Regions from separate parts of the Homo sapiens genome. Here region 2 is linked to region 1. Evidence: promoter capture Hi-C in 16 types of primary human blood cells and fetal thymus (Javierre and others, 2016). All regions are on one chromosome and are shown on one strand. The core of a region is centred on a gene start or on the middle of the fragment in contact, and the rest is flanking DNA. Distances in the headings are between cores, read along the strand shown.

Region 1 (2,700 bases), core at 118-2,617:
TCAAGGGAGACTCATATGTCAAAGCACCTAACGGTGCCTGGTACCTACCAGATCCTAAGGAAAGGGTAGGTGATCTCAAAAACAGTGCTTTCTAACTATGTTTGCTATCTCGGCCCAAATTTGAAATCAATACAGCGAGGGATCAAAATGGATACAGAATTTGTAGACTGAAGCAACTACTACAAAAGTGCAAAGCGATCCAGAAAATAGCCACACATTTGCTTGCTTTTTGGGTTTGCTAATTTGAAGTTAGAAAAAAGAACCACCTCACTAGAACCTTTAGATTTGCACATGAAAAAACGTATCCTTGTCTAGCTAACTGAAGATTCAACACAGTCATCTCACAATCCTGCCCCAACCCCTCCTCTATGGAAAGGACAATGCACCGGACAAAAGGCCATTTTGTCCAGGAAAAAGGAGGAATGTTACATCCAAAACATACTTTCTGAATTCCTACTATGTGCCTGACTCAGGCCTAGGAGCTGGGAATACAAAGATGCAGTCTTTGCCCTTGAGGATGGCAATACAACGGGAGACAGAGACAAGCAACAAACAATACACTGCGATGAGCTACAGCAGAAAAAAACTCTTAATTCAGAAGCGTTTCCTTGTAAGGTAATTCATATTTATTCAACTTGTACCCTACTCAAAGACCAAATTAAATTATTTCATTATTCCCAAGAACTTTCGAAGGGATAAAAAGGGTTCATGCCAACCATTACTAATGCCTACTAGTGCCACAGACTGGGAGCTCCCTGAGGGCAGGGATGGCGCTAACCTACCCTCGTATTCTCTGTGGCAGACAGACAAGTGCCGCACGAGGGATGCAGCAACCACAGAGGGATGCGGGGCTTGGAGGTAGGGTTGGGGCCGGGGCTGGCTCGAGCGCGCTCGGGACGTACAGGAAGGGGCCAGATGCGATGCTCCACGAGAGCACCAGGCACTCAGTCAAGAGTTGGGCGTAAGTTCGGGCCAAGGCCTCGAAGCGCTCCGGCGACTGGCTAATCGCTCAAAGGGGCTGCCTAAGTGAGCGCCTTTGAGCCCCCAACCCCGGGTTTCTTCAGTTCCTGGGCCTGGGCTCCAGGCTCTCGGTTCTTCAACACGTCGCCCGGCCCGGTGCAGCAAACAGTTTTTCCTCAACCATTCCGGGGTTTCTGAGCCGTTCGGCTCGCAGCAGAAAAGTAAAAAAAGAGCCGCCCTTCCAGCCCAGGCTAGCTCCGGCCGGGCCACTCTAGCCCTGGCCGCCCCGCCACTCACCAGGTTGGGCAGTCGAACAGCGGGAGGCTAGAGCCGGAGTTCGCGGCTGCCGCCATCTTGCGTCTCCCCCTCCCATTTGGCGCGCCCTAAGCACGCCGGGAAACTGGAAGACCGAGAAGGGAAAAGCGGCATCCCAGCAGCCTGTGCGTACGCACGCTCACGCACGCCCGTACGGGGGGCGGTGCTTCTAGTGGGGACAGAGGAGCTTTTGGGATTTTTTTTTTTTCAGCGTTTGTGCGAGTTGGCCGTCTCTGGAAGTCTCCAGTGGTTAGGGTTTTCCTTGGCCAGGAGGTGTCAAAGGAAAAGGGGCTTTGTAGGGAGGGGAGTCAGTCTTTCCCTACGTCCTCCTGCAAACGCTTCTTGGCTCTAAAATCTTGGGACTAAGCCGTGCGCGATGGCTCACGTCTGTAATCCCAGCACTTTCGGAGGCTGAGGCGGGCGGATCACTTGAGGTCGGGAGTTTGAGACCAGCCTGACCAACATGGTGAAACCCCGTCTCTACTAAAAATACAAAAATTAGTCGAGTGTAGTGGCACATGCCTGTAATCCCAGCTACTTGGGAGGCTAAGGCAGGAGAATCGCTTGCACTCGGGAGGCAGAGGTTGCAGTGAGCCGAGATCGCGCCATTGCACTCCAGCCTGGGCAACAGAGCGAGACTCCGTCTCAAAAAAAAAAAAAAAAAAAGTAAAGAAAGAAAAAATCTGGGGACTACATCCTCCTCCAGAGTTTAGGTTAAGACCGTCAGCCTTTTGCCCTCAAAGCGGAGAAGCTAAAGGGCAAAACTCGGAGATTGGAGTGATTATTGTTTCTCTTCAGCCCTTCTCCAAAAAGTGGCACCCTACTCACTTTTTTCTAATTCACGTTTAGGCCTGTAGATTGTCAGGGAATCTGCATTAGGGGTCACCTAGTCTGTTTATGAAAACTCTGGACAAGCAGGAGCCAGGAGCAGGTCCAGTCAGAAAGCAGGGGTCCAAATCATCACTGTGCTTGGCTCAAATGGTTAATTTTTTTAAAAAGGATTTTTTGCTTTTGGTTATAGGGCAAGGAAGCATAAGGATTGCTCGCTTGCCCTAGATCACCAGCTGGTTTTAAGAGACCATTAGCAGGGCCTCTGGTTTTTTATTTTTTATTTTTTTATTGATCATTCTTGGGTGTTTCTCGCAGAGGGGGATTTGGCAGGGTCATAGGACAATAGTGGAGGGAAGGTCAGCAGATAAACAAGTGAACAAAGGTCTCTGGTTTTCCTAGGCAGAGGACCCTGTGGCCTTCCGCAGTGTTTGTGTCCCTGGGTACTTGAGATTAGGGAGTGGTGATGACTCTTAATGAGCATGCTGCCTTCAAGCATCTGTTTAACAAAGCACATCTTGCACTGCCCTTTATCCATTTAACCCTGAGTGGAGAGAGCACAGGGTTGGGGGTAAGGTCATAGATCAACAGGATCCC
Region 2 (2,700 bases), core at 48-2,547, 380 kb before region 1:
AGTACAGTGTTGCGATCTTGGCTCACGGCAGCCTCCACCTCCTGAGTTCAAGTGATTCTCTTGCCTCAGCGTCCTGAGTAGCTGGTATTATAGATGTGTGCCACTGTGCCTGCCAAATTTTTGTATTTTTAGTAGAGACGGGGTTTCACCATGTAGGCCAGGCTGGTCTCGAACTCCTGACCTCAAGTGATCTGCCAGCCTCAGCCTTCCAAAGTGCTGGGATTACAGGCGGGAGCCACTGCTCCTGGCAGACACTGACTATATATTTAACTATATATTTTTGGCTGAATCATTGTAAATTGCAATAAACCATGATGCTTTACCCCTAAATACTTCAGCTTGTACCCTTCCCAAAAAAAGGACATTTTCTTGCATAATCACTTATCCCACCTAACAAAATAAGGGCTAATTCCCTACGATCATCTGAAACCCAGTCTAGTAGAGGTTTACAAAGTGCAGATGCCAAAGACTAACTCAGAAGGTCTGAGGGTGGAAATTAGAATGTTGTCTTTTTCAGAAGCTTCACAGGGTTGGAGCACAGGCAGAATGAGAAACTGCTTTAGATTAGGAGTTCTTTTAGGAGAGAGTTGATGTCTCATACCTGCTTTAGCCACCTTAGTGCTTAGTACAGGTTGAGTATCCCTTATCTGAAATGCTTGAGACTAGAAGTATTTCAGATTTCAGATTTTTTCAGATTTTGGAATATTTGCAGAATGCATAATGGTCGAGCATCCCTAATCCGAAAATTCAAAATGTTCCAATGAGCGTTTCCTTTGAGCATCATGTTAGCACTCAGAAAGTTTCAGATTTTGGAGCCTTTTGGATTTTGGGTGCTCAACCTGCATAAGGAACATAATAGGAACTTGATACCTTTCAGTCTCCCTCCTCCCCCAAATTATTACAACATCTTCATAGTGCTAGGCTTCCATTTGTTTTTGTTTTTGTTTTTGTTTTTGTTTTTTCCTGGAGACAGGGTCTCACTTTGTTGCCCAGGCTGGAGTGCAGTGGCACAATCTCAACCTCCCAGGCTCAAGTGATTCTCCCACGTTAGCTTCCTAAATAGCTTGGACTACAGGCGACCACCACCATGTCTGGGTAATTAAAAAATTTTTTTTTTGTAGAGACAGGGTCTTGCTATGTTGCTCAGGCTGGTCTCGAAGTCCTGGGCTTAAGTAATCCTCTCACCTCAGCCTCCCAAAGTGGTGGGATGACAGGCGTGAGCCTCTGTGCCTGGCATGTTTGGTCTCAACTTTGTGATTAAAACCTGAAATGTTTCCTAGTTGTACCTTTACCTTTTGGTGCTTGAATTTTGTTAAAGATCAGTATTTCTGGGCATTTAAAGAGATTTGTTAATTTTTTAAATGCTTTTGCTAAGAGTCTCTTTTTGCCGTAGGACCTTAGAGCTTTTGGTTGTAACGAGACAGGGCAGGCTGGAAGTTAGTAAATGTTTCCCTTATTGACAACCCCAACTTTTCTCTTATTGTAGTTATCCATCTTGGTGCATCCTGACAAAAATCAAGATGATGCTGACAGAGCACAAAAGGCTTTTGAAGGTATTTGTAAATTTACCTGCTTCTGAGTATTAGATTGTGAATGGCAGGGCCTAACTGTTCCTTGTCCTAGATCAAGCAAAGACTGTTATAGTTTTGTCTTCTGGTCACCAAGAAGCTGTGGTTTTCAGTAGAGCAGTTGCCATTTCAAAGCAGAATGTTGTTGTTTAAGAAGTAGACCTTAACTTTGCTTTGTTAAAACTTTTATATGCCAACAAAGACTGTTATTGCATAGGATCATTTTTTTTCTTTGAACATAAAGAATTTTATCACTGAATTAAATCCAGATGTAGTGTATTTAGCCTTGAGTATATATTTAATTTTTTCCAAGGCTCTTAAGGAAAGTCATTGCTATAGTTGAATGTTTTTTTTAACTTAGTTTAACGACAGTAAATAATTAAAGTAGGGAATGCTTTAGAGAGCACAAGTCCATTTACACTGCCTGAGTATAGTTCAGACTTTCAGAGGGTGTTTGCAGAAACAGTTAATTTCAATGTTTTGCATTAGCTGTGGACAAAGCTTACAAGTTGCTACTGGATCAGGAGCAAAAGAAGAGGGCCCTGGATGTAATTCAGGCAGGAAAAGAATACGTGGAACACACTGTAAGTATTTATAGTGCTGCTGTGTTTACAGGAAGTATCAGCAAGCCTTGGGCACCTTGTAGAAGGGTACATATGAACATAGTAATGCCTACTGGCACAACCTGTGGCTACTTCTGTGCTCTCTACCACTTTGCTGTGGTGGTCATGAATAGTGTGTGCCTGAAGCTGTAATTCACCCCTAAGAGAAGAACTCAGATGAGGAGTAGCTGGTACACTGCTCCTACCTCTTTCCCTACCAGTCCTGTGTTGGGGAGAAAGGGTTGTTCTCTCCCTCTCATCACATATTGCCACTTACCCCATTCTTAGAGTGGAAACGTGGAGCAGCCTGTGACTCTTGACTCTTGATTTTTATTCTTGTCCCTGTGAAGGGTTTGCAACAAGGCTTGGCAAAGGCTAGCAAGAGGATAGGCGTAAACTTTTTTTAAAATAGGAGGAGGTTTATGTCCATCTTAATAACAGAGTTGGGAAGAACTCAGTTGAAGGAAACTGAGTTGTAGCTGGTGTTATTTTTGTTTGCTCTTGAGGGCATACATAAGTCTCCAATGTGG

Evidence for each region. The method cuts DNA at HindIII sites, captures the fragments that hold promoters and counts their contacts. A CHiCAGO score of 5 or more calls a contact.
Region 2: a fragment that was not itself captured here is called in contact with the fragment with the promoter of PPP1R8 in region 1 in 3 of 17 cell types (M1 macrophages, M2 macrophages and endothelial precursors); the score reaches 5.6 in M1 macrophages.

Annotation. Positions count from the first base shown.
Region 1 is chr1:27,829,449-27,832,148 of GRCh38, reverse strand. It overlaps PPP1R8 (protein phosphatase 1 regulatory subunit 8), which reads right to left and starts at 1,367. Exons shown (of 7, transcript NM_014110.5): 1 at 1,258-1,367. The coding sequence starts at 1,313. It overlaps LOC124903885 (a long non-coding RNA gene), which reads left to right and starts at 366. Exons shown (of 2, transcript XR_007065562.1): 1 at 366-1,400. RefSeq lists enhancers at 318-1,102, 1,060-1,229, 1,103-1,888 and a silencer at 1,360-1,439. The HindIII fragment of the contact is 9,216 bases long and covers 1-2,700 here.
Region 2 is chr1:28,209,424-28,212,123 of GRCh38, reverse strand. DNAJC8 (DnaJ heat shock protein family (Hsp40) member C8) reads left to right here. Exons shown (of 9, transcript NM_014280.3): 4 at 1,487-1,553; 5 at 2,058-2,152. Among named protein-coding and RNA genes, the nearest start is that of DNAJC8, 22 kb to the left of the region's middle. The HindIII fragment of the contact is 1,549 bases long and covers 523-2,071 here.